2 separate regions of the Homo sapiens genome follow, and region 2 is linked to region 1. Evidence: promoter capture Hi-C in human tissues and cell types (Jung and others, 2019). All regions are on one chromosome and are shown on one strand. The core of a region is centred on a gene start or on the middle of the fragment in contact, and the rest is flanking DNA. Distances in the headings are between cores, read along the strand shown. Region 1 holds the start of IRF3 (interferon regulatory factor 3). Region 2 holds the start of SLC6A16 (solute carrier family 6 member 16).

What was found. Contacts are between HindIII fragments. The study calls those that stand out against the background at their distance.
Region 2: a contact is called between a fragment that was not itself captured here and the fragment with the promoter of IRF3 in region 1, in 1 of the 25 tissues and cell types used here (adrenal gland).

What each region holds. Positions count from the first base shown.
Region 1 is chr19:49,663,464-49,668,963 of GRCh38, forward strand. IRF3 (interferon regulatory factor 3) reads right to left here and starts at 2,394. Exons shown (of 8, transcript NM_001571.6): 1 at 2,168-2,394; 2 at 1,211-1,383; 3 at 1-51. The coding sequence starts at 1,375. It overlaps BCL2L12 (BCL2 like 12), which reads left to right and starts at 2,470. Exons shown (of 7, transcript NM_138639.2): 1 at 2,470-2,604; 2 at 3,222-3,336; 3 at 3,556-3,698; 4 at 5,388-5,474. The coding sequence starts at 3,230. RefSeq lists silencers at 2,373-2,522, 2,563-2,642. The HindIII fragment of the contact is 43,433 bases long and covers 1-5,500 here.
Region 2 is chr19:49,319,948-49,325,447 of GRCh38, forward strand. SLC6A16 (solute carrier family 6 member 16) reads right to left here and starts at 5,244. Exons shown (of 12, transcript NM_014037.3): 1 at 5,101-5,244. The HindIII fragment of the contact is 3,182 bases long and covers 717-3,898 here.

The DNA of each region.
Region 1 (5,500 bases), core at 1,144-3,643:
GTCTGGCTTATCCCTCCCGGGAACATATGCACCAGTGGCCTCGGCCCAGGCCTGGGGCAACAGTGGTGTCAGGATGGTGGGGGAGGACGACTTAGATCCTGCTCCTGGGGCCCTAACCCTGTCTCCCGAGTCCTAACACCACCCTCTTTCCCTGGCAAGTTCTAACTCTGCAAGGTCCATCCCCAAATCCCCCCGTCCCACCTACCTCCATCCCCCACCTCTAGTTTTCAAAAGGCTTTTTTTCTTTTTGAGATGGAGTTTCACTCCTGTCACCCAGGCTGGAATGCAATGGTGCAATCTCAGCTCACTGCAACTTCCGCCTCCCCGGTTCAAGCGATTCTCCTGTCTCAGCCTCCTGAGTAGCTGGGATTACAGGTGGGCACCACTACACCTGGCTAATTTTTGTATTTTTAGTAGAGATGGGGTTTCACCATGTTGGCCAGGCTGGTCTTGAACTCCTGACCTCAGGTGATCCGTCCTCCTCGGCCTCCCAAAGTGCTGGGATTACAGGCATGAGCTACTGTGCTCGGCCTCTTCAAAAGCCTTTGAAACCTCTTTGGTTTTTGTTTTGTTTCGCTTTTGTTTTTAAAGAGATGGAGCCTATGTTGCCCAAGCTGGCCTCAAACTCCTGGGCTCAAGCGATCCTCCCGCCTTGGCCTTGCAAAGTGCTAGGATTACAGGTGTGAACCACCGCCCCCGGCCCAAAAACCTTTTCTTTCTAAGCCAGGCTTCCAAGTCCAACTTGGTGTCTAATCCCGTGCACCACCTGCCCCGCGACACCCTCTGTGATAACCCCGCCCCTCACACTGTTTACCACCTCTGGCATATACTAATTCGGTAGTTAGGAACCTCAGATTTGGGGCTCCAGGCCTCACCTCTGATGTTTCAAGAACCATCCCCCAGTATCTATCCTACAACCAAGAGCCCCGGCCTCTAGAAAGCCCCAAACCCCCAGGATGCATTTCCTTTGCGTACTAACCGGCTTTCCCGGTTTTATTCCCGTAACCCTGCAGCTCCAACCCTGCTTGCGCCCCACCATCAGTCAGCGGATCCGGCTAGCCCCGCCCCTCCCGTTCTAGCCCCACCCACCAGCGTTGGCACGAGCCCGCCCCTCGCGCGCCACCTCCGCCTTCTCAGCCGGGCCCACTAGGAGTCCTTTCCGCCCAGCGCGCAGCTCCGGGTTTCCAGCGTCCCAGGTCGTCGCACGCACCTGGAAGATTCCGAAATCCTCCTGCTGTGCATCCTGCCGTAGGCCGTGCTTCCAAGGGATGCGGAAGCGCGTGCGGCTCTTGTTCACCCAGGCCACGCCCTCCAGTTGCCCCAGGTCCAGCTGCGACACCAGCCAGGGCAGGATCCGTGGCTTTGGGGTTCCCATGGTCCGGCCTGCGCGTATAGGGCATTTCCTGGGCGCGACCGGCCTCCCCCGGACCCACCTGGCCTGGAGTTTCCGCACCCAGACCTCCTTCTCACGGGCCACGGCACAGGTCCTTCACCCATATTTTCGGGGGTACAAACAGGAAACCTCCTCTTCCCATCCTCCCATCCTCCCGAGAGGCTCTCTAATCAGCTAGGGTTCCTTCCCATATCCATGGCACATCCTTCCCCAGCGTCTTCAGTGCAGACCCTCCACTCCCTCAATTCCGCCAGTATAGACCTCCTCCCTCCCCCACATCATCGAAAGTAAGTATCCCCACTTTCAGGGTAGCATCCTCTTTCCCTAGTTATTTCAGTGCAGAATCGATTCACGTGTAAGCCTCTACCTCCTGCACTTACCCCAATGTAGACCCCCTTCCACAGTCCCCCTACAGAAGATCTCCCAAAACATTTCCAACACAGAACTTCCATTCAATTCCCCTCCGACTGCCCGCCTCCCTCCTCCAGGACAGAGCACGCCCCAGGTTTCGAGACTGAACTACCCCCATCTACGGAGTCCACCCCTCCCTCTCTAGAACCCCCTCAGTGTAGACGCCTCCTCTTTTCCTCTTTCCTCCCTACTTTTTCTAGTTTTTCTGCAGCCGACCTCCAGCGTCGGCCACTGTAGCTCCTTCCTTGCTCCACTTTCCCCAGAGTACACAGCCTGCCTTTCCACTCTCCGTGCAGACCCATCCTCTTTCCCGCTCCTCGCTCTCGGACGCCACCAACGCTCTCCCGGGCTCTTCCGCGTTACCTACGATGGAAGGTCGGGGCGTGCGGGCAGCTGGAACCCACCCCTGTCTTGGAGCTCCGGGTAGCTCTCAAACTCGAGGCTGCGCACCCCCTTTCCCGTCAGCTGAGCTCTAGAGCGCTGGGGCTTTCTTTTTGATCGACTTCTTGAAATAAAACCAACTTTATCATTCTTTGGGTAACAGACCCAAAAGCCGATGGGACGGCCCGCTGGGCTGTTCCCGCCCCTATGCCCTTTTTTGGGTTTCCGGCCAGAGGCATGCTGGGAGCGTCACATGCAAATTGAGCGTGCACCCAGCGTTCCGCCCTTTCTACGCTGGGCCGGTTATCGACCCGGCCCAGTGCGCAGGCGCGGGAAAGTTGAACTAATAAAGTTTGTACGAGTTCAGTGGAGGAGACCGCAAGTTGAGTGGAGGAGGCGGCGGTGGGGCCCCGGACCAGGTCAGCGGGGTGTTGACGAGGGGTGGGGTGAGGAGGGAAGAGGAGGGGGCCGGGATCCAGTGGTGGGCACCCCAGTCCCGCTTCTCTGATATCCAAGGGTCCAGGGTCCTCTAGATTCCAGCAGGGGTCGGAGATTTGGAACTACACCTCACAGCAGGCTGCGCGGCGAAGAAGCGCGGACCTAGGGGAAGATTTGCCCTGAAACCTCTTGGGATTGGTAGTTCCCGATGCTTTAAGGGTTTCAGGAGTTTGGCATATGCCTCTTATAGAATCCAGGAGTTGGGGCGCTAAGCCTCTTCTTCCTGGGAGACCTAAGGGTCTGGGGCTCCAGTTCCTTTTTCTCTAAGACTCAGAAGTCCAGGACCCCAGCTCCCTCCTCCTTTAGACCCACGAATCTGGGCACCCAGCCCCACCACCTTTCCTTGGATCGAAGAGTCTTTTTCCTGATCGCTTTTTCGTCTGAGGACTCAAGAGTCTAGGCCCCCAGACCCACACTCTCCAAAGGACCCAGGAGTCCAGGCCCTCAGCACCTTCCTTGGGACTCACAAGTCCTGGTCCCCAAGCCTCCACTTCTTGCTAAACCCTTGGAGTCCAGTCCCTAACCCTCTCTCTCACAGGTGCCTCCATGGCAGGCTCTGAAGAGCTGGGGCTCCGGGAAGACACGCTGAGGGTCCTAGCTGCCTTCCTTAGGCGTGGTGAGGCTGCCGGGTCTCCTGTTCCAACTCCACCTAGGTAAGAGGAGTGGCCCTTCTCCCCCAGGGGCCAGCATTTGAGGCTCCCTCCTAACTCTTGCTCCTGGTCTCAGTCTGTCTCCTCTCTTTATATCTGGCTCTATTCTCTGTCTTTGGGGTTTTGGAGAGAGGTCCTCAGCGGGGGAGGGAGGGAGTTGGGGAAAGAGACTGCTTGCAGGGGATCTCTGGTGGGGTCAGTCTCTGAAGTCCTCCTCTCCAGAAGCCCTGCCCAAGAAGAGCCAACAGACTTCCTGAGCCGCCTTCGAAGATGTCTTCCCTGCTCCCTGGGGCGAGGAGCAGCCCCCTCTGAGTCCCCTCGGCCTTGCTCTCTGCCCATCCGCCCCTGCTATGGTTTAGAGCCTGGTAAGAGATTTCCATGATCATCTATGAAGCCGGCAGAACACGGGATAAGGTGCTAGTTTAAGATCACTCAGCTAGGGGGTGGCTGTGTGGAGTCTCTAGCACCAGCCTTCAGGACAGAACCGTCCTGTCCTCTCCCCTCCCCAGTTAGATTTCTGTCAATTCTGTGGGTTGGCTTTCAGAGAGCATTTGGTCAATCTGGTTGTTGTCTCTTTCCTTCCATAACTACTTCCCTGCCCCTAGGACTTTTGTAGCCAGGAATACCCCTGATAGAGGGGCAGAAGGGCTGGTTTTCAATCACATCTCCCTGGCTGTTTTAGTTGCGTGACTCTGGGGAAAATGCTTTCTCTTCCCTGCTCCCCTGTTTTTCCAATAGCAGAGTAGGAATTGGGGAGGAGGTCACTGGACTTGATCAAGGTGACCCACAAGTTTCCTCATAGGTGTGAACCTGGACAGACTAGTAATGGCTGCTGGGAGTGCTAGCTTGAAAAGGGGTTCACAGCTTGGGAGAGGAAGTGCTGTGATCAATTGGTGATGTCTGTAGTGAGTGAGGGAAGGGGATACTAACAGTAATGTCTTGTGTTTGCCTTCCTTGGATGAGATCATCTTCAAGGTCTAGTTGAGCTCTGACAGTCTTTTGGAGACAGATTGTTGCTCTGTCACCCAGGCTGGAGTGCAGGGGTGCAATCTCGACTCACTGCAATCCCCACCTCCTGGGTTCAAGCGATTCTCGTGCCTCAGCCTCCCGAGTGACTGGGATTACAGGTGCACGCCAGCATACTAGCTGATTTTTATACTTTTAGTAGACACGGGGTTTCGCCACGTTGGCCAGGCTGGCCTCAAACTCCTGGCCTCAAGTGACCCTCCCACGTCGGCCTCCCAAAATGTTGAGATTGCAGACGTGAGCCACCGCACCCTGTCAGCTCTGACATTCTTTTTTTTTTTTTTTTTTTTGAGACGGAGTTTCGCCCTTGTTGCCCAGGCTGGAGTGCAATGGCCCGATCTCGGCTCACCACAACCTCTACCTCCCGGGTTCAAGTAATTCTCCTGCCTCAGCCTCCCAAGTAGCTGGGATTATAGGCATGCGCCACCATGCCCGGCTAATTTTTTTTGTATTTTTAGTAGAGATGGGGTTTCTCCATGTTGGTCAGGCTGCTCTCGAACTCCCAACCTCAGGTGATCTGCCTGCCTCAGCCTCCCAAAGTGATGGGATTACAGGCGTGAGCCACTGCGCCTGGCCCCAGCTCTGACATTCTAAGTCCAGTCTGAGGATCTCATAAAGTGAAAAGTACAAGGGTTTTGGCATTTTTAACCAAGTTTTCTCACTGGGCCTCAGTTTACCCCATTATAAAATGGGAATCATGGCCAGGCTTGGTTGCTCACGCCTGTAATCCTAGCACTTTGGGAGGCTGAGGTGGGTGGATTGCCTGAGGTCAGCCTGGGCAACACGGTGAAACCCCATTTCTACTAAAATACAAAAAATTAGCCAGGTATGGCGGCGTGCGCCTGTAGTCCCAGCTACTCATGAGGCTGAGGCAGGAGAATTGCGAGACTCCGTTTCCCAAAATCAATACATAAATAAATAATAAATAAAATGGGAATCATTGCCACCTGCCAAGGTAGTTGGGGGAAGGAGAGAATCCGTAAGTTTCCAATGTCCTGGAAACCTGTCATTAACTCTTTTCACCCCAGGCCCAGCTACTCCAGACTTCTATGCTTTGGTGGCCCAGCGGCTGGAACAGCTGGTCCAAGAGCAGCTGAAATCTCCGCCCAGCCCAGGTGAGGCACAGAGGAGCCCCAGAGAA
Region 2 (5,500 bases), core at 1,058-3,557, 340 kb before region 1:
TTAAACAACACACTCTTAAACAACCAATGGATCAAAGAATAAACTACAAGGGGAGTTAGAAAATACTTACAGATAAATGAAAACGAAAACACACATACTAAAATTTATGGGAGGCAACAAAAGCAATGCCAAGGGGGAAATTTATAACTATCAATGGTTACATTAAAAAACAAAAAAGAGGCCGGATGCAGTGGCTCACGCCTGTAATCCCAGCACTTTGGGAGGCTGAGGTGGGTGGATCATTTGAGGTCAGGAGTTCAAGACCAGCTTGACCTACATAGTGAAACCCCATCTCTATTAAAATACAAAAATTAGCTAGGCATGGTGGTGGGCGCCTGTAATCCCAGCTACTCAGGAGGCTGAGGCAGGAGAATCGCTTGAACCTAGGAGGCGGAGGTTGCAGTGAGCCGAGATCACACCACTGCACTCCAGCCTGGGCAACAGAGCAAGACTCCCTCTAAAAACAAACAAACAAACAAACAAAAAAAAACCAGATCTTGAATCAATAACCTAACTCTAAAACTTAAGAAACTAGAAAAGCAAACTAAACCCAAAGCTAGCAGAAGAAAATAATAAAAATTAAAGCAGAAATGAATAGAGAATAGAAAAACAATAGAGAAGCCAAAAGTTGTTTCTTTAAAAATATCAACAAAATTGACAAACCTTTAACTAGATGTACTAAGAAAAAAAGAGAAGACTCAAATGATTAAAACCAGAAATGAAAATGGGGACATTATTACCAATTCTACAGAAATAGAAGGATTATAAGAGAGTACTATGAACTTATGAACAACTGTACACCAATAAACTGGATAACCTAGATTAAATGGACAAATTCCTAGAAATACAAATCTACTAAGACTAAATCACAAACAGAAAATCTGAATAGATCTATAACTAGTAAGGAGATTGAATTGGTAATCAAAAATCTCTCAACAAAGAAAAGCTCTGGACCTGATGGCTTCATGGGTGAATTCTACTAAACCTTTAATGAATTAATATCAATCCTTCTCAAACTTTTCCAAAAAATTGGAGAGGAGGGAACACTTCCTCATTCATCCTATAAGGCCAACATTGCCCTAATACCAGAGCCATACAAAGACATTATAAGAAAAGAACACTACAGACCTATATTCATTATGAACTTTGATGCAAAAATCCTCAAAAAAAATACTACCAAACCTAATTCAGCAGCATATTAAAAGGATTATATACCATGACCAAGTGGGATTTATTCCTGGAATGCAAGGATGGTTCTGCATACAAAAATCAATCAATATAATATACCACATTAACAAAATGAAAGAAAAATAATGATTCTCTCAACTGATGCAGAAAAAACATTTGACAAAACTCAATACCCTTTCATGATAAAAAAAAAAAAAAAAACTCAACAATCTAGGAGTTAAAGGAAAATACGGCTGGGCATGGTGACTCATGCCTGTAATCCCAACACTTTGGGAGGCCTGATGACCACTTGAACCCAGGAGTTCAAGACCAGCCTGGGGCCAGGTGCAGTGGCTCACATCTGTAATCCCAGCACTTTGGGAGGCCAAGGCGGGTGGATCACCTGAGGTCAGGAGTTCAAGACCAGCCTGGCTAACATGGTGAAACCTGATCTCTACTAAAAATACAAAAATTAGTCAGATGTGGTGGTGTGCACCTGTAGTCCCAGCTACTTGGGAGGCTAAGGCTGGAGAATCGCTTGAACCTGGGAGGCAGAGGTTGCAGTGAGCCAAGATCATACCACTGCACTCCAGCCTGGGTGACAGAGCAAGACTCCATCTCAAAAACAAACAAACAAACAAACAAACAAAATTTTTAATTACCTGGGTGTGTTGATGTACTTCTGTAGTCCTAGCTACTCATGAGGCTGAGATGGGAGAATCACTTCAGCCCAGGAGGTCAACGCTACAGTGAGCCATGATGACACCACTACACTCCAGCCTGGGTCACAAAGTGACACCATGTCTCAGCAAAAAAAAAAAAAGGAAAATATCCCAACATAATAGCCATATACGAAAAACTCACAGCAAATGTCATACTTAATGATAAAAGACTGTAAGCTTTTCCTCTAAGATTAGAAACAAGCGTAGAATGTCTAATTTTGCCACTTTTATTCAACATAGTACTGGAAGTCCTAGCCAGAGAAATTAGGCAAAAATATAAATAAATAAAAGGAAACCAAACTAGAAAGATTATATGATCTTATACGTAGAAAATCCTAAAATTTTCACCAAAAAAATTTTTGAGCTAATAAATGAATTCAGCAAAGTAGCAGGATACAAAGTCAACAATCAAAACTCAGTTGCATTTTTATACACTAACAATGAACAATCTGAAAAGAAAATTATGAAAACAATTCCATTTGTAATAGCATCAGAAAGAATAAAATACTTAAGAATTAACTTGGCTGGGCACGGTGGCTCAAGCCTGTAATCCCAGCACTTTGGGAGGCCAAAGTGGGCAGATCACCTGAGGTCAGGAGTTCGAGACCAGCCTGACGAACATGGAGAAAACCCGTTTCCATTACCAAGTTACCCAGGCATGGTGGCACATGCCTGTAATCCCAGCTACTCAGGAGGCTGAGGCAGGAGAATCACTTGAACCTGGGAGGCAGAGGTTGCAGTGAGCCGAGATTGCACCATTGCACTCCAACCTGGGCAACAAGAGTGAAACTCCATCTCAAAAAAAAAAAAAAAAAGAATTAACCAAGAAGGTGAAAGACATGTACAAAGAAAACTACAAAACATTGCTGAAAAAAATTAAAGGAGACATAAATAAATGGAAAAATATCCCATGTTCATGGGTTGGAAGACAACACTGTTAAGATGTCAGTATTACCCAAAGCAATCTACAGAATTAGTAGCTTTTTTTTTTTTTTTTTTTTTTTTTTTTTTTTTTTTTTTTTTTTTGCAGAAATAGAAAAACACGTCCTAAAACTAACATGAAATCTCAAGGGACCCTGAACAGCCAAAATAATCTTGAAAAAGAAGAAAAACGCTGGTGTACTCACATTTCCTGATTTCAAAACATATTACAAAGCTATAGTAATCAAAATAGTGTGTTACTCACATAAAGATACAGACCAAGGGAACAGAATAGAGGGCCCAGAAACAATGTATGGAAAAATGATTTTTTACAAGGGTGCCAAGACTACTCAATGAGTAAAGGACAGTCTTTTCAACAAATGGTGCTGGGAAAACTGGATTATGTACAGGCAAAAGAGTAAAGATGGACTCTTACCTAACACCACATACAAATACACAAAATAAATCAAAGACCTAAATGTAACACTTAAAATTATAAAATTCTTAGAATAAAACATACGACAAAAGCTTCATGATAGTGGATCTGCAATGAATTCTTGGATATGATACCAAAGGCAAAAGCAACAAAAGAAGAAACAAACAGGATTTCATTAAAATGTTTTAAATTTGTGCATCAAGAGACACTATCAAAGGGGTGAAAAGATAACCCACAGAATGGGAGGAAATATCTGAAAATCATATGTATAATAAGAGATTAATATTCAGAATATATAGAGAACTCGTAAAACTCAACAACAAAGAAACAAACAACACAATTCAAAAATGGGCAAAAGACTTAAATAGACATTTCTCCAAGGAAGATATACCAATCTCCAAGAAGTACATGAAAAGATGTTCAACGTCACTAATCATTAAGGAAATGCAAATGAAAACTACAATGAGATAATACCTCGCATCCATTAGGATGGCTAATATAAAAAGGCAGAAAATAAGAAGTGTTGGTGAGGATGTGGAGAAATTGGAATCCTTGTGCCTTGCTGGTCAGAATGTAAAATGGTGCAACCACCATGGAAAACACTATGGTGGTTCCTCAAAAACTTAAAAATAGAATTACCATATGATCCAGCAATTCCACTTCTGGGTATACACCCAAAATAAGTGAAAACCAAGCCTCCAGTGGCTCAGCCTGTAATCCCAGCTCTTTGAAAGGCTGAGGTGGAAGGATTGCTTGAGCCCAGAAGTTCGAGGCTGTAGTGAGAGGTGATCATGCCACTGGACTCCAGCCTGGGAGACAGAGAGAGACCCTGTCTCTTAAAAATAATAATAATAGGCTGGGCACGGGGGTTCACACCTGTAATCTCAGCACTTTAGGAAGCTGAGGCGGGTGGATCGGCTGAGGTCAGGAGCTCGAGACCAGCCAGGCCAACACAGTGAAACCCCGTTTCTACTAAAAATACAAAAAATTAGCTGGGGGTGGTGGCGCACGCCTATAGTCCCAGCTACTTGGGAGGCTGAGGCAGGAGAATCGCTTGAACCTGGGAAGCAGAGGTTGCAGTGAGCTGAGATCGTGCCACTGCACTCCAGCCTGGGTGACAGAGTGGGACTCCATCTCAAATAAATAAATAAATAAAAAATAATAGATTCATGTTTCTTAAACACATTCTAGAACAGTTGTCCTTAAAAGCAAGCTTTACGGAAGGGAGAGAACTGAGTTTTGGCCAGCTGGCCACTTCCAACATCCATAAAGCCCCTTGAGCCCCAGGCGGACTCCTCTTCCCATATGGGTGCAACCCTCCATGGTGCCCCTACACCGTCATCCCAAGCAACTCCTAGGCTCATGCCCTGTGGGGAGTGCTCAGGATCCCCCAGAAATGCCCATTCCCCTCACATTACCTCCTTCCCTGGAACTATAACCTCCAGAAAAGGAAAATAAGGAGCTGGTGTCCCATTTCTGCAAAAAGCAGAAAATAACTGCCCTAACAGACCAGTGATGGGGCTAGACCCGGGTTTCTGCCACTCGGGCACTTGACACTGATGGCTTTCCCCAAAGGCAGGGACTGATGGCCGAATCCTGTCAAGGAATTGGCTCAAACTCGGACTGGATGAGTGAGGAGAGCCGAAGACAGTTTCCTCTGTCCTACGTGGGGGGTAAAGGAGGGACCCCTTTGATCCCTCAGCTCCACAGAGCCCAGGGCAACCAGGAGGCTCCCAGCCAGTCACCTGTCACCCGTCAGTGGAGCCCAGTGGGCCCGGGCCTCGAAAATGGCGCCCAGCCCCACACACCCCAGATGTGGGAACATTTTAGGGCTCCCTGGGCCGTGACCCTCACCCTAGCCCCAAGGCTTCTGCCAGGTTCTTCAGTCCAGCCAGTCGGACAAAAATGAGGGTGAAGAAGCCCCAGCTGAGAAGCCTAGCAATCTCCTCAGGCCCCTTCAGGCGTCGACAGATCGGTTTGGGCGACACCCCTCGATCTGCCTGGCGCGCGGCCTTTCCCGCCGATTCTCTGCGCATGCGCCGCCGCGCCCCCTCACTCTTTCCCTACAGCTGTAGCAAACACTGTAACCACTTCGCCCTCCCCAACTCCCTGCTCTCTCCCCACACGCACGCACGTGTGCACATCCTCTGACTGCTCACGCGCCACTCCCTTCCCCACCGCACCCCACCCCGACACCCACGATGCCACGCTTCAGGCGGGGCTCTAAGACAAGGCCTTTCTCTGGCACATGCAC